Regions from separate parts of the Homo sapiens genome. Here regions 1, 2, 3, 4 and 6 are each linked to region 5. The links are contacts of gene promoters, found by promoter capture Hi-C in human tissues and cell types (Jung and others, 2019). All regions are on one chromosome and are shown on one strand. The core of a region is centred on a gene start or on the middle of the fragment in contact, and the rest is flanking DNA. Distances in the headings are between cores, read along the strand shown.

Region 1 (4,495 bases), core at 1,947-4,446, 430 kb before region 5:
AAGTAATCCCACAGTGAATCGTGATGAAGCACAAACTGACCATCAGCTCTAATCCAAACCTAATCATTTTTGAAATCATTATTTCAAAGAGTTTCTGATCCATCCCACACACAAACACAAAACCTTATAGAGACAGGTGCCTACCATGATTAACCTGCACCATCCTGCCCTGCCTCCTCCTGGTAGCTCTATTTCAGCACCTACTTCATTCTACTTTGAAGCAGGTCTTCTTTTGTTTTACTTCATGATGCCAAGCTCTGGGCTCTGCAGGTATTAGATCTAAACAGTAGATTACTAAGCCTTCATTGCCTCCACCAAGACACCTTCCCACCCCTCTTAGAGGCATTAATTATCTTCATCTCTGAATCAGACATAGATCTGAGCTCCTACAAAGGCTAGCTTTCCTTCACAATCTGGGTGGCCAATAGTACTACCCAGCCTGCCCCACTAACTTTCTGTTTCAGGATTGCCCCTCTCCCATATCCTCTCCTCCCTCTTCCAGTTAGTCCCAAAAACCAGTCAATGTGTCAGCATAATACAGGACTTCAGACCCAAGAACCTCAGGACAACAGGTTTTGGCAGAAATTTCCATTCATTTTCATGTCCTTCAATTAACTAAATTTCACTGGACAGAATATGGAGCTTCAGAAACAAGATATTAGCGTTGCAAATGACCATTTTAGGAACTATCATAGCCTCGAGACTCTCCCTCCTATAATTTTAGCTTATGGAGGAAGCACAACTGAAAAGACTTTTTTTTTTTTTTTTTAAGAGACAGAGTCTCGTTCTGCTGCCCAGGCTGGAGTACAATGACACTATCATAGCTTGCTGTAGCCTCAAACTCCTGGGCTCAAGGGATCTTCCCACCTCAGCCATGCGAGTAGCTAGGACTACAGGAACATGTCACCACACTCATCTAATTTTTTTTTCATAGTGAGATGAGGTCTCACTATGTTGCCCAGGCTGGTCTCAAATTCCTGGCCTCAAGTGATCCTCCCACGAGAGCCTCCCAAACTGCTGGGATTACAGGCAAGAACCATCGTGTTTGGCCTGAAAAATACTTTTCTAAAAAGTTGCGGCTGGGCATGGTGGCTCACGCTTATAATCCCAAAACTTTGGGAGGCCGAGGTGGGTGGATCACATGAGACCAGCCTGGCCAACATAGCGAAACCCCGTCTCTACTAAAAATACAAAATTTAGCTGACCGTGGTGCACGTTGGTAATCCCAGCTACTCGGGAGGCTGAGGCAGGAGAATCGCTTGAACTCAGGAGATGGAGGTTGCAGTGAGCTGAGCTGGCACCACTGCACTCCAGCCTGGGCAACAGAGCAAGACTCTGTCCCAAAAAAGAACAAGAAAAAAAAAATCATTCTCAGACAAAACTTGGTCAGCCTGAGGCCCAGCAGTTAGCAGAGTATTAATAAATATCTGAATAACTTCATCAAATGAAAAGTCAGGCTGGCCTAATAGTCAACCCTACAGTGGCATCAAGAGGCCTGACTTCCCTAAACACTCACTTCAGAGATCATGGAGACCACACACACCCTAGTGGAATGTGCTTACAATGGTATCACTGGGACCCAGACTCTATTCTCCAGGTGCCAGGATCCTGACCGTACATATTATCCTCATAACTCTTTGTCTGCCCTTTTACTAGCAAAATTGAGCCTCTATTAGTCAAGTTCCCCATCCTGTCTCTTCACATGTTCAACTCTGGCAAATGAAACCCAACTCAGTGCTCTAAATTCCGGCATCCCAGTTTCCACTAGCAACTCCAATGTTACAGACCACCCTCAGTCACCTTGCATCTAGAAAGCACATTTTTTAAAGTTTGTTAGTGTTCATTTAATTTCTAAGCTATTCACAAATATTCAGGACTATGTCATCAATTATATTAGGAACTCCTAGACAGCAAGTACCTGCATACTTCCAGGCAGAGTGACAGATGAACTGTGACTGTTTTAGAAAACAATGACTGAAATTCAGGGGGTAAAAAGTCAAACTATCTTTTTTGTCCAGTTTTCTTTACACTTATAATTTCTACCCAACTCCTGACATAGTGATTAACTTGAATAAAGCGGATACCTAGGCAGTAAATAAATACTGAAAATATACTATCAAGCTCTGATATTACAAACATCCCCCCCCACCACCTAAGTCATGAGTAAAAACAACTACAACTCAAATGCCTTACCATCCTTGTTAACAGCAGTGACTTTGGCCGGGTAAAAACGACAATCAGACCAGCAAGCAAGGACCTGCTCATTTATTTGAAATTCCTAAAAAACATAAAAAAAAAAAAAAGATCCTGTTACCAACCTAATTTCACAGGACATACAGGACATACCAGATCTCATAAAAGAAGCTGGGATTGATAAGAAAGTGTGAAGGGAAAGTAGCTGTTGAGATGGAGGAAGATATTTCTGTTGTTCAACACTAGGAGTTGCTATAATTTCGGTGTCATTTGTCCTCACCAAAAGTAAACGTTTTCAGTGCAGCAGTGTTGAAAATGGGGCCTATGAGAGGTGTTTGGGTCATGGTAGCAGATCCCTCATGAATAGATTAATGCTGTCTCACAGGAGTGACTTCTCGCTCTCCTGGGAATGGATTCATTCCCAAGAAAGCAAGTTGTTACAAAGCAAGTCTCCTTCTGTTTGGTCCCTCTCTTCACACTTGTCTCCCTTTTTGACCTTCCACCATGTATGACACAGCATGAAAGCTGATGCCAGAAGCCAGTACCATGCACTTGAACTTCCCAGCCTGCAGAATTGTGAGCTAAACAAACCTCTTTTCTTTATAAATTACCTAGTCTCAGGTATTCTATTATAGCAACACAGAAAAGACTAAGACAGGAGTCAAAACAAAAGGGCTGGGACACAAGACCTCAATAAGCCCAAGAGGTCTGGGCAGGCACAGAACAGCACTGATGATAATTCCACCCTAACCAGCATACATTCTGAAAATGAGTCTAAGAGGCCAGGACTACTAGAATACACATCCAGTATAGGAGTCAGAAGATATGAGGCTACTTCATACTCAGGGAAGCAGCATTTAATGCCATCTACACTTCTAAAGGGTCTTTTGCCAGGGAAAGCAACCATTCACCTTTAATATTTTATACTCTTTTCCCAGCACACAGTTTGCACTGATAAATTTTGTACAATGGGCCAGGTGCAGTGGCTCACACCTGTAATCCCAGCACTCTGGGAGGTCAAGGTGGGCAGATCACCTGAGATCAGCCTGGCCAACATGGTGAAACCCCGTCTCTACTAAAAATACAAAAATTAGCCTGTGTGGTGGCGGCCACCTGTAATCCCAGCTTCTCGATGGCTGAGGCAGGAGAATCACTTGAACCCAGGAGGTGGAGGTTGCAGTGAGCCGAGATTGCGCCATTGCACTCCAGGCTGGGTGATACAGTGAGACTCTGTCTCAAAAAAAAAAAAAAATTTGTAGAATGAACACTGAAAAGTCAAATGGAACAATACTGAATAATCCTTAATTGGGAAAAAGAAAAAAAAGGCCAGCAATAGTTCAAGTTCCCTAATAGGGTTAAAACAGAAAATAAGCCGGACACAGTGGCTCGTGCCTGTAATCCCAGCACTTTGGGAGGCTGGGGAAGGTGGATCACCTGAGGCCAGGAGTCTGGCCAACATGATGAACTCCCACCTCTACTAAAAATACAAACATTAGCCAGGTGTGGTTGGATGCGTCTGTAGTCCAAGCTACTCAGAAAGCTAAGACTCGAGAATCACTTGAACCCGAAAGACAGGTTGCAGTGAGTCAAGATCATGCCACTGCACTCCAGCCTCGGCCATACAGTAAGACTGCCTCAAAAAAAAAAAAAAAAAGAAAGAAAAATAGAAGGCAGGGCTGAGTCTGAGTCAGATCCAAAAGCAGCAGGACCATTATAGATGTCTCAATGCCTGTTTAAAAACCTTAAAACTAGCCAGGCACAAGGGCACACGCCTATAATCCCAGGACTTTGGGAGGTACGAAGGATCTTCCTTCTTTGGCAGAAAGATCCCTTAAGGCCAGGAGTTCAAGACCAGCCTGGGCAACATAATAAGACCTTGTCTCTACAAAAAAAATTTTTTAATTAGTCAGGCACAGTGGTACATGCCTATAGTCCCAGGTACTCAGGAGGCTGAGGAAGGAGGATTGCTTGAGCCCAAGAGGTCAAGGCTACATTAAGCCAAGACTGCACCACTGCACTTCAGACTGGGCGACAGAGCAAGAAAACGTCTCTTTAAAAAAAAACAAAAAAAGATGAGTTAATGGGTGCAGCACACCAACATGGCACACGTATACATATGTAACAAACCTGCACATTGTGCACATGTACCCTAGAACTTAAAGTATAATAAAAAAATTAATAAATAAAATTAAAAAAATAAAACAAACTGTTATTACAGGAACAGAAAAAAAAAACACCATAAATGAAGCTTCAAAAGATATGCTAATTGAAGTAAGTCAGACCCGAAATGTTACATACAGTA
Region 2 (4,719 bases), core at 841-3,340, 360 kb before region 5:
TCTCAAAAAAAAAAAAAGAAGATTGACAAGAGGATGATTGGGAGAGAAAAATATCCATTTCCCCACCGACACCCCAGGGACAAGAACAAAAAGAGTATCCAAGGGATTCCTCCAAACGACATCTTTTCTTCATAAAAGATAGTAAGAAAGCCAATATAGGGAAGAAGTTTATGGGCTAGAAGCAGTGCTGGAAAAATCTGAGAGTTTTGTTTGTTTTTGTTTTCCAGCACAAGGAGATAAAGCAAAGGAGAAAACAGTATGCACCTAAACAGAATCTTAGGTCTTCTAGAAGTAAACCACCAGGAGGATTCAGAGTCCTGTGATTAACCAAAGAAATGGTTTCCACTTTGAATCCAGCGCTGGGGGCCCAGGCAGTCCTAGACTTGAGGCCACCTCCAGCACAAGGAAAATCTTTATAGCCACTAGGTAAACAGAACAATTCCAAAGAAAGACAGAAACCAGAAAAATGTTTGGGGATTGGGCAAGCCAAGAGAGAAGAGATCCTGCTAGCGGAAAGATAAAAGATAGGCCTATCAAAAACAATGTGCTGGTAGCCCTTTAGGAGAGGAATCCTTCCCTGGGAGGAGAGGAGAATTCAGGAGGTGTGACTCTGGGAAGTGTGCTCAGAAGAAAAGCCCGCAGAAGCACAGAGAAAAGTGCCGTGCTGAACAAAGATACGCACTCGCCAGAGGAAGAGGAAATGGGTGCACTGACCAGACTGGGGAAAGCACCTCAAGGGGAGTGTGGCTCCAAAAAGGGAAGGAAACTGAGGAATGAAAATGTCTTGGATGACAGAAAAGCTAAACAGGGTAGGAAGGCATGCTCAAAACCACAGACCACTCGCCACCTGGAAATGAGAGGACTCACAAAAAGGTGTGCCCCCCAAATTTAAGAAGCATCTGGAAAGTGGCTGCACTCTGAGAGTTGTATAACTAAAAGGGGTTCACCTCGTACATTTGGGGGGCACAAGAAACAAATATACTCCCAGATATGAAAATGAGTCTCCTTCAGGAAATAAGGTAGTTTGATTTGGGGAACACGTGAAAAGTGTGTAACCCCAATAATACAGTCTCGGGAGAAGGCAGTGAATTCCCTTATTTGTGAAACTGGAAATAAGTACCCATAAACTTCAAAATTTGGACATTGTTTTCGGCCCAACCTCAGGTTTGAAGGGCTGAGGAAAGGAAGTGGCCCCTAAATGTAAGAAATTCCAGAAGGCATGCTGTCAGATTTGGGACCTGGAAAAGGGGAATTCTTCCTTGGAGTAGAGGGGATACAAGAAAGTATCCCAAAACTTTAGCTAATGGACCCCAGATCTGAGGACCCGATAACAGGGTGAACCTCTAAATTGGAACGGAAATGCAGAATCAAATTGGAGGCCCGAAAAAAGGAATGTGCTCCCACTTTGGGGGCTGACGGAAGAGGGTACGCCCTAAATTTGGGGGGGGGAGGGCTTTTAGAAATTTAGATAAAATTCCAGAGCTAGAGCTTAAGAAAGGGGGTGTGCCGCCCAGTTTTCAAAACTATAGAGAAAAGGGACACTCCCATATTTGGGGTCTTGAGAAAGGAATGTGCTCCCCAGAATAGGATAAAAAAAGCCAATTTTAAAAAACATATTCCCAAAGCGCAAGGCAATAGCAGAGGCTGCTGATGAGGCTCTAGGTGCCCACACAGCTCAGGCTCGGGCCCTAGGGCTTACCCGCACCCCCAACACGGCCCGCTCCGCGCCCCGGGCCCGCACCCCACGGCCCAGCCCCCTCGGGCGGCGCTGATTGGCGGCAGCCGCCGCCACTCTTGCGGGTAGCCCCGGGGATTGGGCACCGCTCGCACGCCCGCCACGCTCTCAGCAGCAGTCCCAGGGCCTCCCTCCAGGCTGGGCGAGCGGGGCCAGGCGGGGAGCGGGGCCGGGCAGGGGACCGAAGCAGCGGTGGCGTCCGTCGCCGTCCCCGCCCGCACGGCGCGCGCGCAGCGCGGGCCCGGCCCAACCCGGCCCGGCCGGCCGGCTTCGCCTGGCCGCGAGCTCACCTCACGGCCCCACTCCGGCTGCGCCGCTCCAGGACCAACCGACAGAAGGACTCTGCGTGCTCTGCACCACGTGACCCCCGGGACGCGCCCAGCGTATGCCCCGCCCCCCACACACACGCATCATCGCCACCACCGAGTGACGTAAGGTCCCAGCTGCCCCGCCCCCTGCCCCGTCTGCCCGATCACTGTGGCAACGGCCTGCGCAGGCCACGCCCACTACCCTGACGCGCGGGAAACAGGCCCGCGCCCTAGCAGGAACACGAAGTCCCCACTCACTCGTAATCACTGAGATCACCGAAGCCGGGGAATGGACGCTATCCATCACCCGTTAATTTTGCCACCTAAATGCGTCTCAAAGCTTCCCATTTCTCCATCGAAGCGACCACCATCTCTCTCCAAGATGAAGATGGTTTCCACCCTATTACTCTTCGCCGTTCTAATCCATTCTTCGTACACCGGCAGAGAGGTCTTTTCAAAACGCCATCCCCTGCTCAAAGCTCGTTTCCCTCCCTACTCCGGATTAAGATCTAACTCTTCACCTAGACTATCTACCAGGCTCTTCAAAGTCTGGACCTGACCTGCTGCTTTCTTATCCTCACGAATCCAGCTCCCCCACATTCTCAGTGTCCTTCAACTCCGCTAACAATCCAGGTTCTTCTCATCTCAGAGCCTTTGCACTCATTTCTCCCCCACTTTATCATTAACTCCTAGAAAGGTTTCCAATTGCTGCTAAGGATAAGGAGCTGTATTTTCTCTGGGGACGAAGGTCGGAGTTGAAGCCACCCCAAAAGAATATGAGACCAGGAGCAGTGGCTCACGCCTGTAATCCCAACACTATGAGAGGCTGAGGTGGGTAGATCACTTGAGCTCAGGAGTTCGAGACCAGCCTGGGCAACATAGCTAGACCCCCGTCTCTCCAAGAAATACAACAATTAGCCAGGCGTGAACGTGCGCACCTGTGGTCCCAGCTCAACCTTCTGAGTAGCTGGGACTGCAGGCCCATGCCACCATGCCTAGCTAATTTTTTTTTTTTTTTGAGACACGGTCTCACTGTGTCACCCAGGCTGGAGTGCAGTGGCGCAGTCTCGGCTCCTCATAACCTCCACCTCCTAGGCCCAAGCAATTCTCCCACCTCAGTCTCCCAGATAGCTGGAACCACAGGTGTGCACCTGGCTAATTTTTGCATTTTTTTGTAGAGACGCAGTTTCACGATGTTGCCCAGGCTGGTCTTGAATTCCTGGGCTCAAGCAGTCCACCCACCTCAGCCTCCCAGAGTGCTGGAATTAACACCGTACTTGGCCACTTTTTTTTTTTTTTTTTGAGATAGAGTCTCGCTCTGTAGCCCAGACGGGAGTGCAGTGGTGCGATCTTGGCTCACTGCAACCTCTGCCTCCCGGGTTCAAGCAATTCTTTGCCTCAGCCTCCCAAGTAGCTGGGATTACAGGCGCACGCCGCCACGCCCAGCTAATTTTTTATATTTTTTTTAGTAGAGACGGGTTTTCACCATCTTGGCCAGGCTGGTCTTGAACTCCTGACCTCATGATCCGCGCGCCTCGGCCTCCTAAAATACTGCGATTACAAGCGTGAGCCACCGTGCCCGGCCGAGTTTTTTTTTTTTTTTTTTTAGAGACAGGGTCTCACTTTGTTGACCAGGCTGGTCTCAAACTCCTTGGCTCAAGTGATCCTCCTGCCTCAGCCTCCAGAAATGCTGGAATTACAGGCCTCAGCCAGCAAATCCAGCCTGAGGGGTGCTTTTTAAACCAGGGCTGGAAACTAAGGAGGGTATTGCCTCAGTTGAGGTAGTCAGGGCAAAGAGCAGCCCTTAGGTAGAGACACTGTGGAACCAGGGACAAAAGCTTCAGCTACACTTGCTTGGGCAGTACATGTATTCTATTAAAATTGTAACATGGCTGGGCGCGGTGGCTCACGCATGTAATCCCAGCACTTTGGGAGGCCAAGACGGGCAGATTACCTGAGGTGAGGAGTTCGAGACCAGCCTGGCCAACATGGTGAAACCCTCTCTCTACTAAAAATGCAAAAATTAGCCAGGTGTGGTGGTGCATGCCTGTAGTCCCAGCTACTTGAGAGGCTGAGGCAGGAGAATGACTTGAACCCTGGAGGCAGAGGTTGCAGTGAGCCGAGATAGCACCACTGCACTCTAGCCTGGGTGATAGAGCAAGATTCCATCTCAAAAAATAATAATAAAATAAAATAAAATTGTAACAATACAGAAAAGATTCACATGACCCCTGCATAAGGATAAGCATGCAAATTCATGATACATTTCATACTTTTTAAAAAATCAGCAATTTGAGAATCAGTGCCACTCAGTCAAGTAAGTGCTCACATATAGGAAGGGCCTTCCCAAGATCCTCTGGGTTTATGTTTATTAATATGAAATTGCTCAGATGTCAGTGGCTATGGTAGCACACAAAGAACTTTTTGCCCCCCAACCACAATAATGCCAAGAACTCCAGACTCTGTAGCCCCGTATAAATATAGCATGTTTCTTTACTTATTCAACCTGCATTTACCGAGAGTCAAATTCAAGATGGGCACCAAACACTCAGAGCACAATGAGACTTAGGCCCTGCTCTCGAGGAGCTCACAGACTGGTGAAGTAATCATGGCAAGCAAAAGAGAAATATGTTACAAGGGCCCCTGAGCTACAACAGGAGTGCAGGCTTGGAAAAC
Region 3 (4,329 bases), core at 1,297-3,796, 500 kb after region 5:
GGGAGGTGGAGGTTGTGGTGAGCCAAGATCACGCCACTGCACTCCAGCCTGGGCGACAGAGTAAGACTCCGTCTCAAACAAACAAAAAAAAGAAGAAATAAGGCACCAATGAACAACATAAGTAAGATACCTGATATCATGGAGCTTATATTCCAATGATAGTGTGGGTAATAAACAAATAACAAATATAACCAGGATAATTTCAGATTATGATAAGCATTATAAATAGAGCAGAATGATATAAAAATGAGTGACTAGGGAGAAATACTTTTAAAAAATATACTATCTTGGGTCAGGCACGGTGGCTCACACCTGTAATTCTAACACTTTAGGAGGCCAAAGTGGGCCCATCTATTGAGGCCAAGAGTTCAAGACCAGCCTGGCAACATAGCAAGACCGCATCTCTAAAAACATTGAGCTGGATCCGGCTGGGCACGGTGGCTCATACCTGTAATCCCAGCACTTTGGGAGGCCGAGGCAGGTGGATCACGTGAGGTCAGGAGCTCAAGACCAGCCTGACCAACATGGAGAAACCCCGTCTCTACTAAAAATACAAAAATCAGCTGGGTGTGGTAGTGCATGCTTGTAATGCCAGCTACTCGGGAGGCTGAGGCAGGAGAATCACTTGAATCTGGGAGGCGGAAGTTGCAGTGGGCCAAGATTGTGCCACTGTACTCCAGCCTGGGCAACAAGAATGAAACTCTGTCTCAAAAAAAAAAAAAAAAAATTTTAGCTGAGTGTGGTGTCATGCACCTATAGTCCCAGCCACTCAGAAAGATGAGATGGGAAGATCTCTTGGCTCATGCCTGTAATCCCAACACTTTGGGAGGCCAAGGCAGGAGGATCACCTGAGACCAGGAGTTCAAGACCAATCTGAGCAACACAGCAAAACCTCATTGCTAAAAAAAAAAAAATCGTTTTCAATTAGCTGAGCATGGTGGTGCACACCTGTAGTCTCAGCTACTCAGGAGGTTGAGGCAGGAAGATCGCTTGTACCCTGGAGGTCAAGCCTGCAGTGAGCTGTAATCATGTCACTGAACTCCAGCCTGGACAACAGAGTGAGTCCCTGTCTCAAAAAATAAATAAATAAATGTTTCCCTTAGTGGTTTTTTTCCAATTTTATGATTTTTTTGAATAAGTAATACATACAAGTGGGACTACATAAAAAGATACATAATGAGAAGTGTTCTCCCCACTCCTATCTCCCAATCACCCTGCCTACTGGCAAACCACAGTTTGGGTTTTGTGATTTGTTTTTTAGAGACAGGGTCTCACTCTATTGATAGGCTGGAGTACAGAGGCACAATCATAGCTCACTGCAGCCTCCAACTCCTGGGCTCAAGCAATCCTCTTACTTCAGCCTCCTGAGTAGCTGGGACTACGGGCACATGCTACCACACCTGGCTAATTTTTTTATTTTAAAATTTTTCATAGAGGCAGAGTCTCGATATATTGTCCAGGGTGGTCTCCAAACTCCTGGCCTCAAGCAAAACTGCTTCAGCCTCTCAAAGTGCTGGGATTACAGGCGTGAGCCACCATGCCCAGGGCAAAACAGTTACCAATATTCTGTGTGACTTTCCAGAAACAATCAATATTCAGACAGGACCATTCTTTGTAGGACACAGGGCTAGGGTAATTCAACTAGTGTGGAATGACCAAAATAATTACTTTGCAAGAAGTCTGTATCATTATGATCTTTAATAAGACCCTTGAGATATCATTGAAGACCAAAATTTGAAAATTGAATGTTAAAAAACTGAATTTTACAGGAGGCTGAAGCAGGAGAATCGCTTGAATCCGGGAAATGGAGGTTGCAGCAAGCTGAGACCGTGCCATCGCACTCCAGCCTAGGCGACAAGAGTGAAACTCTGTTTAAAAAAAAAAAAAAAAAAAATTTGGCCAGGCACAGAGGCTCACACCTGTATTCCCAGCACTTTGGGAGGCCAAGGCAGGCAGATCACCTGGGGTCAGGAGTTTGAGACCAGCCTGGCCAACATGGCAAAACCCCATCTCTACTAAAAATACAAAAATTAGCCGGGCATGGTGGTGCACGCCTGTAGTCCCAGCTACTTGGGAGGCTAAGGCGGGAGGATCATTTGAACCCAGAAGGTGAAGGCTACAGCGAGCGGCGATCACACCACTGCACTCCAGCCTGGGAAACAGAGTAAGACTTTGTCTCAAAAAAAAAAAAAAAAGGATTTTAATGTTGTTCAGAAAAGAGATGAACACCTCATAGTCCCCAGTCAAGCACAGGGTAACAGGGGTAGGAAGAACTGCTCTACTTAAGGGACAGGTCTGTCAGACAAGCATATATACTACATGCATTTGTTTACATAGTCTCATTTTTTCTACACAAATGATGGCATACAATACACACTATTCTGTATCTTTTGTTAATTATTATATGCATTCAATAAAATGCACAAATCTTATGTGTAGAAATTGATCATCTTGATTTTTCAAATTTAACAATATACCTTGATATCATTCTTCACCAAGACTTAAAGAACTATTTCTCTTTTTTATTTGTTGTTGTTGTTGTTTTTGAGACAGGGTCTCACTCTGTCACTCAGGCTGGGGTGCAGTGGCACCATCACAGCTCACTACAGCCTCAACCTCCCAGACTCAAGTGATCCTCCCACCTCTGCCTCTTGAGCAGTTGGGACTACAGGCCAGAGTCACCATGTCTGGCTACCTTTTTTTTTTTTTTTTTTTTTTTGCAAAGACAGGATCCTACTATGTTGCTCAGGCTAGTCTGGAACTCCTGGCCTCAAGTGATCCTCCAATCCTCCTGCCTCAGCCTTCCTTCCAAAGTGTTGGGATTACAGGTGTGAGCCACGGTGCCAAGCTTAAAGAGCTATTTCATTATCTTTCTCAGCTGCAAAATATTCCACTATTTGTATGTACTGTAATTTATTTAACAAATAAATGCTTCAATGAATATTTTTATTTTTATGTCACTTTACTCACCTGCAAGTATATCTGTAGGATGAATTACCAGAAGTGGACCTGTTGGTTCAAGAGATGTGTGCTTTTTTTTTTTTTTTTTCCCAAGATGGAGTTTTGCTCCTGTTGCCCAGGCTGGAGTAAAATGGCGCGATCTTGGCTCACTGCAACCTCCGCCTCCTGGGTTCAGGCAATTCTTCTGCCTCAGACTCCTGAGTAGCTGGGATTACAGGCGTGCACCACCACACCTGGCTAATTTTTGCATTTTAGTAGAGATGGGGTTTCACCATGTTGGTCAGGTTGGTCTTGAACTCCTGACGTCAGGTGATCCACCTGCCCTGGCCTCCCAAAGTACTGGGATTACAGGCGTGAGCCACCGTGCCTGGCTGATGTGTGCATTTTAAATATTGATAAATATTAGGGAACAACTACTTTAAATAAGATGGTCCTGGAAGGCCTCTCTCTGGAGAGGTGATATTTGAGCCAAGACCTGAATAATGAGAGGTAGGCAATCATACTAATTCTTGGGAAGAGTATTCTGGGGAAAAGGAGCATCAAGTGAAAAGGCACTGAGACCTTTTCAAAGAAAGAAAGAAAGACAGTATGGCTAGATTTCAGTGAGCAAGAAGTTGGGTAAGAATGAGAGGTAGGCAGCAGCCAAATCACGTAGAGCCTTGTAGGCAATAGTAAGAAGTTTGAATTTTACTGTAAGTGGATCCCTGGTTTCCCTTGGCAAGTTCAGGTCCACCTCCACGCTTTTGGCCACATCATTGCCCCTGCTCAGAATATTCTCCCTCCTCCTTCAGACACCAGCACCATCTGGCTCTCCCTTAGCACCACAGACCATTGCTTCCCCTCTCCTTCCTTACTGCACAGAGCACTTATGAAGGAGGTAACTGAAACCTAGAGAGATTATTGGTCACACAATAATAAGTGGCAGAGCCAAGAATAGATGCTCAGGTCTTCTGATTTCAAGTCAGGACTCTCCCTCATAGTGTGAAGGACAGGGACTGGCAGGGAAGCCAGGCCTTTTCTTACTAACAGAGGTCACACAGAAGATTATCAGCCTTTTTCCAGTTCCTGGCTCGATGAGTCAGTAGGCTTTAACCCTCCTAGGGATGAGAGAAGCCAAACACAGGGAGCTTACTAAAGTGGGAAAGAACAGGGAGAGAGGAAGCTGGCAAACGGCCCTGAATGCCAGAGGCAGAAAAGCCATTTCCTTAACTGGCTCACTGACAAGTGCCACAGGAACTTCAGAACGTCTCCGGTTATGGCTGAATGCCAACATATACATACCCAAGCACATGTGTCCCCATATGCAAACCACATACCAACTCACCTATGTGCGCTCACTTGTATAAAATCACATATAAATATACAAAC
Region 4 (4,615 bases), core at 1,907-4,406, 320 kb after region 5:
TGTAAGGACTGAATTTGAGGTTGTCATTTTTGACCCAGTGAATACCCAGCTTTGGTGAATGCCTGGGCCAGGCTAGACTGACAAAGATAGGAACTGAGGAATGGAAAGTGACATTTGCAGTTGGGTCAAAGCTGAGGTGGGAAGATTTGTCCCTAGCATGATGAGTGCCAAGGGAAACCTGGAGGGCCATGTGAACTGTGAAATTAGTCAGGATCCTGTCTCCTCACCGCGACAAGGGTGAGAATATCCATCACCATATGCCTCAGGAAGAGCTCTGGGTGGAATCCCTGGGCTGTGGATTCCCTGGTAAGGCTGGCTGCTGCCCGGACAGCTCACCAATGCCCTGTTTGTATCCCTGGAAATGCCTTTTCTTTTTATGTCTTTTTAAAGTTAATTTCACATATTAGAAGACTTTTTTTTCTTGAATCTAGAAATGATACATAGCTGGTGCAAAAAGTTATGAAAAGTATTGTTATTGAACCAAAGTGAGGGCTGCTTACCTGGTGCAGCAAAGCCACTGACATTGGGATTACAGCAAGAGAAAGTGAGGCATTTATTATTGCACTTGCTGCAGGGTGCCAAGCGAGGAGAATCAAACAGCTTATGCTTAAGACCTGAACTCCCTTATGGCTTACAGGGGTTTTATTTTATTTTTTTGAGACAGAGTCTTGCTCTGTCGCCCAGGCTGGAGTGCAGTGGTGCAATCTCAGCTCACTGCAACCTCTGCCTCCTGGGTTCAAGCGATTCTCCTGCCTCAGCTTCCCGAGTAGCTGGGATTACAGGCACGTGCCACCATGCCTGGCTAATTTTTGTATCTTTAGTAGAGACGGGGTTTTGCCGTTTTGGTCAGGCTGGTCTCGAACTCCTGACCTCAGGTGATCCACCTGCCTCGGCCACCCAAAGTGCTGGGATTATAGGTGTGAGCCACCGCGCCCAGCCGGCTTACAGGTTTTTAATGGCAGGAGGGCAGAGGCCACAGGCGAAGTCATAAATCAATACATAGGGGCTGTATATTGGTTCCACCTAAAAAGACAGGACATCTCCAACCAGGGGCCCACAAGTGGATTCAAAGATTTTCTGACTTGTAATTGGTTAAGGAGGTAAAGCTTTGTCTAAAAATTTGGGATCTGCAGAAAAGAATGTTAGCTCTGACTTATGGTCGTGTCCTCCTCCAGGCCCCCTAGGAAGAAATTTATAACAAAAAATAGAAGTCAAAGTTTAGTTCTCAGCTCTCCCTTATCTGAGTTTGCCTATCAGCAGATCCATTTGGTGGGGGTTCGAGTTTCTAAGAAACAACACTCAGGGACAAATTTTAAGATGTTATATTCAGTTTCTATAGGGAACAAAATATCTCCTGACTGTAACTTCTTTGGCTATTTTTTTTTTTTTTTCTGAGATGGAGTCTCATCCTGTCATCAAACTGGAGTGCAGTGGCGTGATCTCGGCTCACTGTGACCTCTGTCTCCAGGGTTCAAGTGATTCTCCTGCCTCAGCCTCCCAAGTAGCTGGGACTACAGGTGCATGCCACCACGCCCAGCTAATTTTTGCATTTTTAGTAGAGATGGGGTTTCACCATGTTGGCCAGGCTGGTCTCGAACTCCTGACCTCATGATCTGACTACCTCGGCCTCCCAAAGTGCTGGGATTACAGGTGTGAGCCACTGGGATTACAGGTGTGAGCCACTGCACCCGGCTGAGTTTATTTTTGTATAATGTGAGAGATGAGGATCCAGTTTCATTCTTCTGCATGTGGCTTGCCAGTTATCACCAGCTGTTGAATAGGGTGTCCTTTCCCCACTTTATGTTTTTGTTTGCTTTATCGAAGATCAGTTGGCTATAAGTATTTGGTTTTATACTGTGTTCTCTATTCTGTTCCATTGGTCTATGTGCCTATTTTTATACCAGTACCATGCTGTTTGGGTGACTATGGCCTTATTGTATAGATTGAAGTCAGGTAATGTGATGCCTCCAGATTTATTCTTTTTGCTTAGTCTTGCTTTGGACATGCAGGCTCTTTTTTGGTTCCATATGATTTTTAGGATTCTTTTTTCTAGTTCTATGAAGATGGATGGTGAGTCTACTCCTTTTAGATGGGGTGTGAGGATGGTAACCATAGTGCCAGTTCACCTGGGAGAGTCACTTTTATGCCTACCGTCCCGGTGTAATTATTTATTGTGTCTTTTCATTCTTTAAAGTGTTCTGGTTTGAGCAGTAAGTTACAGTCATCTTAGTTATGAGTCACAATCTTCACCATTCCCTGTTACATCACACTTAGCTCTCCTCTTTCATTTTTATTACAGGCCCCCTGCTAGGAAGGGAAAAAGTGTGTGTGTGTTGGGTGGGGGGAGTCAGTGCCATCCTGCCACAGAAGTTAGCTGAAAAAATGAGTATTAGAGACAACATGCTATCTGGTGGATAGAAATTAGGACAGGGTTTTCATCTGACAGAGAATATGATGTCACAATTTACTAATCCCTTTCCCTTCCATTATTTAATTTCACAACAACCTACCCAGTTACACAACTTATCCAGTTTGAGACTGCGTTTCTTTGTGTATGGATCTGCTGTCTTCCCCTGTAACCTGCATTTCGTGATAAAGGATCCCAGGCCGTTCTGCTCACCACTGTATCCCAGACACCCTCCCTTTCCCCTAGACATGGTTTGGTGTCGGGCGCAGAGAAAGCCCCAGGAACTACGATTGATCAGGCTCCCAGAATCTATAGATGGAGTGACCTGACGAGGACACAGGCGCAGTGGCAGAGCGCGATGACTTGGTCGATGTCCGCGGTGAGTCACGTGTAGAGAGAAGCAGGCAGGAAGCGGACTCGAGGGCCTGACTCCTGACCTGAAGCCCAGGATCATTTCTTGGCCAGCTGCCTGCATCCTGCCCAAATCGGCGAGAGAAATGGGAGAATGTGGACCTTGGGAGATTTCGCCGAAATGCTGGGCCCGGGGGCCAGAGAAACCGGCAGTGCAGGAAAGGCCACATCTCTTTTCCCACCTACCCCGCTGCCGCGCAGGACTACAATTCCCAGTAGCCTCCACGCCGCACACGGTCCCTGCCACGCGGCTTGCGCCTCCGCCGACGGCCCACTGGGGGCGCTGCGGCGACCCCTCCGCCGCCCCGTAGAAATCTCCGCGGCCCCGAGGCCGCTTGCTTCCTGTTTGTCCGACGAGGAGACATGGCGGCGGCGCCGGTAGCGGCTGGGTCTGGAGCCGGCCGAGGGAGACGGTCGGCAGCCACAGTGGCGGCTTGGGGCGGATGGGGCGGCCGGCCGCGGCCTGGTAACATTCTGCTGCAGCTGCGGCAGGGCCAGCTGACCGGCCGGGGCCTGGTCCGGGCGGTGCAGGTACGAGGCTGGACCAGGAGGGGCGGGGCGGGGCGGACCAGGCGGGAGCTGGCGGGGGGCCGGGGAAGAGGCCTTTCCAGGCCGCCGCTGGACGGGCCAAAGCCCTTTTGGCTGGCCGGAAGGCCTCCCTGTGAGCTGCCCGGACGCTCTCAGCTGCAGCGGGGCCGTGGGAAGCAGCTGGCTTGATGTCCCTTGTCAGGGGCCGAGCGGGGCTGGGCTGCTGTGGACACTGATGGCGTGTACGAACCCTGGGCCCAGTTTCTGGATCCTCCCTTCTTTGCGCCACGTCTACACGTCTGGGGGACCCTGTCGTGTTTGTTTTAGCCTCTGTGGGCCTCGAGTTTATCCCGTGTATTGGGCGTGGGGGAGGGGGTCATCATTGCAGCCCCCAAATGGTTCCCGAGCATTTCATAAATGTCATTTTCTCAGGCCTTTCCTTGACACTCTTTCCTTCCCCTTTCTAAAGTAGGTCCCCATTGTTATTCTGTCACAGCCGCGAATTCGTTTCGTTTACATTACTTTCTTAGTCTATAATTTCGTATTTCTTTGTTGTCTGCCTTTTTCTCGCCCGTCTCCCACATTAGGCTGAGTTCCAGCGGGTGCAGAGACTATATCTGGTTTGCTAGTGTAGAGCGTCACGGTTAAGAGGGACTCTGGAGTCAGGCCTGGGTTCAAAGCCCTGCTCCTCTCTCTTGCTTGGGCAGGTGACCTTTCTGTGCCTCAGTTTCCTCACTTGTAAGATGAAGATGAGAATTAGTAACCTACCTTTTAAGATTGTTGTGGAGATCAAAGGGGGCAATTGTGTAAAGCATTAGTGCATTTCTGGTGCATACTAAGGGCTGAAGGTAGTTAATATTAAGCATCTGACTTATAACAGGTGCCCAACATATGATTATTGTTATTTTTGAGTGAGCGAAGGACACTGCTTTAGGGTAAACCAGGTTGAATAGGACCTAGTCCACTACTTCTTCCACCCTCCCCCACCCCGAACCTTGCTAACACCTGTAAAACATTAGCTTTATTTAAAGACAGCTTTTTCATAAAAAGTTTGAAGGATACTCAAGAAACTGATAAAGTGGTTGGTGGGAGTGAGGTGGGAATTGGGCTAAAGGGGGAGAAAATGGGAGTGAGACTTTTCACAGTGTAACTTTATTTAAATTTAATTTGAATATCACTTCCTCAAATGACGAAAAGGATAGAATAAAATAAAGGCTAGGGGGTCTGTGTGTATGGAGGACTGTGGACGAAAGGAGCAGTTGTGAGTGA
Region 5 (4,329 bases), core at 111-2,610:
GGTCTTTGTTGACTGAATGAAATGAAAGAAGTCCTTCAACATCCTGCCCCTCTGCTCCCTCAACCCCCAAAGCACCAGTACTTTGTCTTCTCTTCTCTTGGGATGTAATGGAAGAGGAGTCTTCTACCAAGGCCGTTCTCTGCCACTTTCCTCAAGAAGCTCCTTGCCTCTTTGATTGATTCTCCTGTATACTCTTTTTTTTTTTTTTTTTTTGAGACGGAGTCTCGCTTTGTCACCCAGGCTGGAGTTCAGTGCCCCAGTCTCAGCTCACTGCAACCTCTGCCTCCCGGGTTCAAGCGATTCCCTGCCTCAGCCTCCCAAGTAGCTGGGATTACAGGCACACGCCACCATGCCCGGCTAATTTTTTTCGTATTTTCAGTAGAGACGGGGTTTCACCATATTGGTCAGGCTGGTCTTGAACTCCTGACCTCAGGCAATCCACCTGCCTCGGCCTCCCAAAGTGTTGGGATTACAGGCATGAGCCACCGGGCACGGCCCTGTATACTCTTCACTAATCTTTTCCTATCAATATGCAAAGATGTTTCCCTTAAACAACCAACCAACCACAAATCCCAAAAGTTTCTTCCTCTACCAGGCTTCAGATCGGCACATGACCGCCTTCTTGCCTTGACTTTCAGGAGTCTGGTATCCCCCGTATTCTTTTATCTTAGCCTCCTTCTCTGGCTTTTTTTTTTTTTTTTTTTTTTTTTTTTTTGAGACAGAGTCCAGTCCTGCTCTGTCGCCCAGGCTGGAGTGCAGTGGCGCGATCTCGGCTCACTGCAACCTCTGCCTTCAGAGTAGCTGGGATTACAGGCACACACCAACATGCCCGGCTACTTTCTTTGTATTTTTAGTTAGGGACGGGGTTTTGCCATGTTGGCCAGGCTAGTCTCGAACTCCTGATCTCAGGTGATCCGCCCGCCTCGGCCTCCCAAAGTGCTGGGATTACAGGCGTGAGCCACCGCGCCCGGTCTTCTGGCTCTTTCTAAAGATTGGGATTTCCTAAAGTCCTGTTCTTTTCAACCTCCATTGAAAAGTGTTGGGGTGGAGTTTGGGAAGGAGGGGCTGAGGAGTGAGGCTGGGTTAGGTGGGGAATAAAGAGAGGGATATGAGAAGCCCCGAGGTCTGGGGTCAAGGAGACAGGCGTGGGGGAAGGATTTGAACCACTGTTACGTGTAGTGGGGGAGACAGCAGGGAGAGCGTGCCCGGGCACGACAGCCTGGTGCACAGCCGAGAAAACAACAGCGCGTGCGCGTAGCGACCTCTTTGCGCCTGCGCCCCCCTTGCCAGTCTTTCGCCGGCAAAAGGAGGACGTAGAAAAGGGGACACCGGAAACTCACTCTTCACCCGGAAATGGTTATTGAGGAACATGGCGTTGCTGGTGCGAGTCCTTGTGAGTGAAGGAGTAATTTTCTACGGTAGCTCTCTGGGTCCCGGGTTGGAGTTCGACAAGGCAGGGCGGGAGGAATTGGAAGGAATCGCAGGAGGGAAGCCTGTGTTATAGCTAGGCTGAGTGGCCGCTTTTCCGTGGGGAAACTGAGGCAGCTTCCGACCTCTTCCTACCCCGTTTTGACCTTAGCTCCCCCATCTTTCGAGAAGGGGAAGACTGACATCTGGCCTTTATTTGATGGGGTTTACTTTTCCTTCCCTCCCCCATGTACCTGCTTCCCCTCAGGGAGAGGAGCATGTAGGACACTGATTGGAGTTTCAGGAGGCCTGGGTTCTAGTCCCTGACTGTCACTGATGCATAGTGACTTTAAGCAAGTCACTTTTGGGCCTCATTGACCCTATGTGAAAAACGAGGACATTTATCTCCTGCAGTCCCTTTAGATTCTGAGATTCTCAGGGTTTCTTTCATAGGTAATAAGTCAGTTCTTAACTGTACAGTTAAGTGGAATATAGATTATTAGATTGAAAGCTGCGTGAGAATTGGAGTCATGTCTGTCTCCGTCGTTTTCACTTTGCCTAGCATGGTGTCTGGCACATCATAGGTGTTAAATGATTACTTGTTGAATAAATGAATGAAGTAAGGAAAGACTACCAGACTCTTTAGCACCCGTGTGTGAAACTACTGCACCTCTTGAGATTTAGTCCTGACCCTTCTAGCATACTCTTTTCTCTAGCAATTAAAGGAGAAAAGAAAGTGGCAGCAGAAAAAACGTTAGGATACAGAGCTTAGTTTTTAATCATGGAGGGATGGGAGAGTGTATAGTTTTAGCGAGTCTTCAAAAACTGGGTCAAAGACACTGTTTTTCATAGTAGACATGGTCTATTCCTGTGTCTAGGTAACTTCTGAATTGTTATTTTACATTTGTGTTTTTGATCTTTTTATATATGTCTTACAAGGACGACAGTTTTACTTCTTGTATTCCTTGCCAGCCTAGCAGAGTGAGGTACCCTCGACTGCTGTTCAGTAAATATTTATTTGTAGAGTAGCCCCTGTAACTGCCAGAAAGATTCACCTGGTGAAGTGATTGTTTGATTTCAGGCCAGAAATTGATTCAGAAATGAGGACTGCTGGGGAAATGGCAATTAGAATGTTCTGAATTTAGTGGTTTTTTTTTTTTTTTTTTTTTTAATCCTTCCCCTGCCACCCTTTAGGGTTTTGTTTTTTTTTTTTTTTTTTTTGAGGCAGAGTCTTGCTCTGTCGCCGAAGCTGGAGTGCAGTGGTGCCATCTCGGGCTCACTGCAACTTCTGCTCCCGGGTTCAAGCAATTCTCCTGTGCCAGCCTCCCGAGTAGCTGGGATGACAGGCATGCACCACACCACACCTGACTAATTTTTGTATTTTTTTTTTTTTTGAGATGGAGTCTCGCTCTGTCACCCAGGGTGGAGTTCAGCGGTGTGATCTCGGCTCACTGCAACCTCTGCCTCCTGGGTTCAAGCAGTTCTCCTGCTTCAGCCTCCCAAGTAGCTGGGATTACAGGCGCCTGCCACCACACCTGGCTAACTTTTGTATTTTTAGTAGAGATGGAGTTTCACCATGTTGGCCAGACTGGTCTCGAACTCCTGACCTCATGATCCGCCTCCTGCGGCCTCCCAAAGTGCTGGGATAACAGGCATGAGCCACCGAGCCTGGCCTGACAACTATCATTTTATAGGGCACTTACTACGTGCTAAGCACTTTAAAATACTTACCTAATCCTTATAACATCCCTTTGGAAAGGAGGGCGTGTTATTTCCTCTATTTTACAGATAAGAAAACTGAACCACAGAGAGGTATTCCTGGCCAGGTGCCGTGGCTCACACCTGTAATCCCAGCACATTGGGAGGCTGAGGTAGGTGGATCACTTGAGGCCAGGAGTTCAAGACCAGCCTGGCCAACGTGGTGAAACCCTGTCTCTACTAAAAATACAAAAATTAGCCAGGCCTGGTGGTGGGCGCCTGTAATCCCAGCTACTCGTGAGGCTGAGACACGAGAATTGCTTCAACCCAGGAGGCGGAGGTTGCAGTGAGCTGAGATTGTGCCACTGCAGTCCAGCCTGGGTGAAAGAGTGAAACTCTGTCTGAAAAAAAAAAAGAAGTATTCCTGAAACATTCTTGTTAGTCTTGCTTTATTTTTTCCTCTTTTTGTCTTGTCAGCCAATATTTTCCCTTCTCCAGTGATGGTTTTGGGAAGGAGGAGGAAACTAAAACACTGCTATTGTTGAATGACTACAGCAGAGAGCCTGGACATTTGATCAGTGGAACTGGACATGCTTATGGTTTTTATGAGTTGTCCTGGGCATTGCTGATCATTTCTGCTTTTCTTTGGAAATAGTAAAAATTGCAGAAAGCCACCCTGTACTTTAGAAAATTAAAAAAAAGTTGTGGTAAAATACATGTAACAAAATTTACCTTTTAAACTTTTTTTTTTTTTTCTGAGACGGAGTTTTGCTCTTGTTGCGCAAGCTGGAGTGCAATGGCGTGATCTTGGCTCACTGCAACCTCTGCCTCCCGGGTTCAAGCGATTCTCCTGCCTCAGCCTCCTGAGTAGCTGGGATTACAGGCACGTGCCACTACGTTCAGCTAATTTTTTGTATTTTTAGTAGAAATGGGGTTTCACCATTTTAGCCAGGCTGATCTTGAATTCCTGACCTCAGGTGATCTGCCCGCCTTGGCCTCCCAAAGTGCTGGGATTACAGGCATGAGCCACTGTGCTTGGCCACCTTTGAAACTTTTTAAGTGTACAGTTCTGTGGTATTGAGTGCATTTACATTGTTGTGCCATCTTTACCACCCTTATCCACAGAATTATTTTCATTTTATAAAACTGAAACTCTGAACCTATTAATAACTCTCTATAGTCTTTTCTCCCCAGCCCCTGGCAGCCACCATTCTACTTTCTGTC
Region 6 (4,306 bases), core at 292-2,791, 270 kb after region 5:
TAGAGGGATGGGATCAGCCTCTCCCAAACCACAGGAGTGACTGCCGGGGAAGAGTGATTCCTCGAGGGTAAATTGAGATGTTACTATCAAAAGAAGAGAGATTGAGATTGCATTTGGCTAACGGTTTAAATAAAGAGGGTTTATTTTCTCAAGTAAAAGAAAGTCTAGAGGTAATTTCTAGCATTGGGTCAGCTACGCAACTGTGTCATTAGAGACCAGCCTCTTTGTAGCTTTGCATTCTAGTATCGTTAGTGTTTTGGCTTTTATTCTAATGCTTAGTACGTCATGGTCTCACATAGCTGCCATCACTTCAGAAATCGAGTCTGAGTTCAAGGCAGAAAGAGAGAGACTAAAAGCCATGTTAGCTGTGTTTGTCCCTTGGTATTAAGAAAACAGAAGCCTTCCCAGAAGTGCCCCCAGTAGACCTCTCAAGGGTCAGAATTGACTGGGTAACACAATCAACTGCAGCAGCAAAGGAGGCCGAGAAAGCTTCTGGATTTCCAACCTCTGGTGGGAGGCCATGAGGTAAAGAGGGTAGGAATGAATTTGTTTTGGGCCAACCAACCTGTTCTGTTTTCCACAAGGTTGAAGGTGACAACTGGTATCTACTGCAAATGTCAAACTAAGACTTTTGGCCAGGTGCGGTCGCTCACACCTGTAATCCCAGCACTTTGGGAGGCCAAGGCGGGTGGATCATGAGGTCAGGAGTTTGAGACCAGCCTGATCAACATGGTGAAACCCCGTCTCTACTAAAAATACAAAAATTAGCCGGGCATGGTGGTGCATAATCCCAGCTACTCGGGGCTGAGGCAGGAGAATCGCTTGAACCCAGGAGGCGGAGTTTGAAGTGAGCCAAGATCACGCCACTGCACTCTACCCTGGGCAGCAGAGCGAGACTCTGTCTCAAAAAAACGAAACAAAAAACCTAAGACTTCTATGCGTAGTTTGCGTTCTTTATATTGTGTCCATTTAAATGACAACATCGTGACTCTTAATTGGGACCTAGGAATTTACTTAACCAGTCTCTTGGTATGAAGTCTCTAGATGATTTCTAGCTCTCAGTGTTTTCTTCTGCTGTCACCAATCCTAGGACAGAAACTGGAGGTCTTAAGTGGAATTAGTGAGGGCCACATCAACATAGGATCCCAGACTCTGAATCTGCCTCCATGCATGTAAGAGCCTCATTGTCAGGTCTCTTTTTTATTTCCAGATTTTGGGGAATGTCTCAGAATTCCAAAGAGTGGTTGAAGTGCTCCAGGACAGCGTGGACTTTGATATTGATGTGAACGCCTCTGTGTTTGAAACAAACATTCGAGGTAAGGGCTGCTCTCTAGGACCTTTAAAAGAAAAAAGAGTGTGAAGTTGCCTCTGTAAACCAAGAAGTGGTAAATAGGATTTTAAGGACTGACCATGCCAGGACCCTTGGCCAAAACCTCTGACCGACAGAGCTCTTCTTCCCTCCTGGAGGGTGAGGTGGGGAAGTCTCAGGATTTCCCCATCAGTTTCAGATATGAAAGTGAGCAGGAGACTAAGAGACTGGAAAGAAATACACCAGATTACTCACCTCTTTAATATGTATTTGATACTAGGCATACAGCTATGAACAAGAAAGATATGATCCTTGCCTTCTTGGAACTTATTGTCTGTCCAATCCAATTTTCTGCAGTGATGGAAATGTCTTATAGCTGTGTTTTGTCCAGTATGGTAGCCACGAACCACATGAGCTATTGAGCATTTGAAATGTATCTACTACAACTATGGAATTGAATTTTTAATTTCATTTAATTTTAATGATATTAAATTTAAGTAGTCACATGTAGTTAGTGATTATTGTATTGGACAGTGCAAATCTACAGCATTAATCTTCCAAACTTGGCAGCCCATAGGAACCACTCCCAAGTGGTTAAAAAATTCAGATGTTGAGACTCCACCCTAAACCTAATGAATTGGAATCTCTGTGTTGGGTCCTAGAATCAGTATTTTTAGCAGACTTCCAGTGATTCTTGTGAAGCCAGCACAGCCCTTATTTGCATCGAACCTCTAGACCACTTAACAGCTGTCACCTCTGGATGGCAGAGTTCTATTTTTCCCCATTATTTTGTATGTTTTCTGCAATGAAACTTATATTCCAGACATATGATCCATAAAAGATTAAAAAAGAGAAGAGAGCAGAGGGACAACATGGTCTAAAATCCTGGTTTAGGAATCCGGCCTGAGTTTGAGGCTGTACTTGCTGCTATGTCTCCCAGCTTCTGAGCCCAGTTTGTCATCTGTAAATGAAGGTCATTCTTATACCTTTATTTCTGATAGGAATATAAGTGATACCAGCTTTCTTTTGGTTGACATTTTCCCATGTATCTTTTTCTATCCTTTCCATCTTTCTGTAGTTTTATGATTAGATACATCTTTTGCAAATAGTGTATTATATTTTGTTTATCCATTCTGACAATCTTTAACTGGCACATTTAATCCATTTACATTTACTGTAATTACTGATATATTTGCACTCATTTCTACAGTATTGTGCTCTCTGTGCCGTCTTCTTTTTTTTTTTTTTTTTTTTTTTTTTGAGGCGGAGTCTCACTCTGTCGCCCAGGCGGGAGTGTAGTGGTGCAATCTTGGCTTACTGCAACCTCTGCCTCCCGGGTTCAGGCGATTCTCCTGTCTCAGCCTCCTATGTAGCTGGGATTGCAGGTGCCTGCCACCGTGCCCTGCTAATTTTTGTATTTTTAGTAGAGATGGGGTTTCACCATGTTGGCCAGGCTAGTCTCGAACTCCTGACCTCAGGTGATCCGCCCCCCATCAGCCTCCCAAAGTGCTGGGATTATAGGTGTGAGCCACTGCACCTGGCCCTGTGCCATCTTCTTTATGTTCCTTTATTCTGTCCTTTTTCATGCCTTCTTTAGATTGTTTTCCCCCCATTCCATTTTCCTCTTACTAATATGGAAATTATGCACAATATCTAGCTTTTTACATAGTTTTCCAAGCAAATTTAACAAACATAACTTATCAAAGTCTAAATTTAATGAAAATCTTTGTTCTCCTCCTGAATAATGCAAAACCTGACTTAGAGAACATCCTGACCTATATGCTACAGTTATATATTTTAGTTATTTGTTTTAAACCTTCCATACATTATAATTTTTGTTCTATATTGTTGAAGTTTTGCATTTACACATAAATTTACCACTTTTTTTGTTGTTGTTGGTTTGAAATAGAGTCTCACTCTGCCACCCAGGCTGGAGTGCAGTGGCGCGATCTTGGCTCACCTCCACCTCCTGGGTTTAAACGATTCTCCTGCCTCAGCCTCCAGAGTAGCTGGGATTACAGTTGTGCACCACCACACCAGGCTAATTTTTGTATTTTTAGTAGAGATGGTGTTTCACCACATTGGCCAGGCTGGTCTCAAACTCATGATCTTGAGTGATCCACCTGCTTTGGCTTCCCAAAGTGCTGGAATTACAGGTTTAGCCACTGTGCCTGGCCTATTTACCACTTTTTTGACTATTTTTTCTTTTCGTGTCTCAGACCTTTTCTCTAAAGTATTTCCTTTAGAATTTCCTTTAATGCAGGTGTGTGCTTCATAAACATTCCCAGCTTTTGTTTATATGAAAATGTCTTTATTCAACTGCCTTTGGTTGGCCTTTGAGTGATATTTTTGCTGGGTGTATGGTTCTAGGTTGATGGTTACTTTCTCTTATTGTGTTAAAAACTTTTTCCATTATCTTCTGGTTTCATTATTGTTAAGAAGTAATCTGTCAATGTAATTATTATTTATTTGTAGAGAATCTTGTTTTGGTTTTCACTTTGGCTGTCTTCTCCTTTTAAAAACTTTTTGTTATGGAAAACTTCAAACATAAAAGTAGAGAAAATAGCATAATGAACCAGACGTGCCCATCACCCAGCATTAATAATTATTATTACATGGATTCTGGCTGCATTCGAGATCATTTTTCCCTTTGGTGTTCTGCAGTTTTACCATAAGGTACATACATGTAGATTTCTTTTCTTTCTTTCTTTTCTTTTTTTTTTTTTTTCTGAGATGGAGTCTCGCTCTGTCGCCCAGGCTGGAGTGCAGTGTCATGATCTCAGCTCACTGCAACCTCCGCCTCCTGGGTTCAAGCAATTCTCCTGCCTCAGCCTCCCGAGTAGCTGGGACTACAGGCGCACAACGCCATGCCCGGCTAATTTTTTGTATTTTTAATAGAGACAGGGTTTCACCGTGTTTACCAGGCTGGTCACGAACTCCTGAGCTCAGGCAGTCCACCTGCCTCAGCCTCCCAAAGTGCTGGGATTACAGGCATGA

The links. Contacts are between HindIII fragments. The study calls those that stand out against the background at their distance.
Region 1: a fragment that was not itself captured here is called in contact with the fragment with the promoter of UQCC1 in region 5 in 1 of the 25 tissues and cell types used here (small bowel).
Region 2: the fragment with the promoter of PHF20 here is called in contact with the fragment with the promoter of UQCC1 in region 5 in 1 of the 25 tissues and cell types used here (bladder).
Region 3: a contact is called between a fragment that was not itself captured here and the fragment with the promoter of UQCC1 in region 5, in 1 of the 25 tissues and cell types used here (dorsolateral prefrontal cortex).
Region 4: a contact is called between the fragment with the promoter of TRPC4AP here and the fragment with the promoter of UQCC1 in region 5, in 1 of the 25 tissues and cell types used here (aorta).
Region 6: a contact is called between a fragment that was not itself captured here and the fragment with the promoter of UQCC1 in region 5, in 1 of the 25 tissues and cell types used here (IMR-90 fibroblasts).

What each region holds. Positions count from the first base shown.
Region 1 is chr20:35,845,133-35,849,627 of GRCh38, reverse strand. PHF20 (PHD finger protein 20) reads right to left here. Exons shown (of 18, transcript NM_016436.5): 4 at 2,194-2,278. Among named protein-coding and RNA genes, the nearest start is that of PHF20, 75 kb to the right of the region's middle. The HindIII fragment of the contact is 7,233 bases long and covers 1-4,495 here.
Region 2 is chr20:35,769,386-35,774,104 of GRCh38, reverse strand. PHF20 (PHD finger protein 20) reads right to left here and starts at 2,090. Exons shown (of 18, transcript NM_016436.5): 1 at 2,026-2,090. It also overlaps the pseudogene LOC124904972. RefSeq lists silencers at 344-638, 1,643-2,022. The HindIII fragment of the contact is 9,618 bases long and covers 1-3,132 here.
Region 3 is chr20:34,907,585-34,911,913 of GRCh38, reverse strand. The region is part of intron 2 of ACSS2 (acyl-CoA synthetase short chain family member 2); the gene reads right to left. Among named protein-coding and RNA genes, the nearest start is that of ACSS2, 33 kb to the right of the region's middle. The HindIII fragment of the contact is 4,448 bases long and covers 323-4,329 here.
Region 4 is chr20:35,091,348-35,095,962 of GRCh38, reverse strand. TRPC4AP (transient receptor potential cation channel subfamily C member 4 associated protein) reads left to right here and starts at 3,156. Exons shown (of 19, transcript NM_015638.3): 1 at 3,156-3,349. The coding sequence starts at 3,182. RefSeq lists a silencer at 3,255-3,384. The HindIII fragment of the contact is 9,696 bases long and covers 1-4,615 here.
Region 5 is chr20:35,409,004-35,413,332 of GRCh38, reverse strand. It overlaps UQCC1 (ubiquinol-cytochrome c reductase complex assembly factor 1), which reads left to right and starts at 1,360. Exons shown (of 10, transcript NM_018244.5): 1 at 1,360-1,393. The coding sequence starts at 1,370. RefSeq lists enhancers at 1,125-1,174, 382-1,204, 1,305-1,454, 1,515-1,614, 1,205-2,028. The HindIII fragment of the contact is 20,339 bases long and covers 1-4,329 here.
Region 6 is chr20:35,139,383-35,143,688 of GRCh38, reverse strand. MMP24-AS1-EDEM2 (MMP24-AS1-EDEM2 readthrough) reads left to right here. Exons shown (of 15, transcript NM_001355008.2): 8 at 1,211-1,316. It overlaps EDEM2 (ER degradation enhancing alpha-mannosidase like protein 2), which reads left to right. Exons shown (of 11, transcript NM_018217.3): 4 at 1,211-1,316. Among named protein-coding and RNA genes, the nearest start is that of EDEM2, 5.8 kb to the left of the region's middle. The HindIII fragment of the contact is 7,283 bases long and covers 1-4,306 here.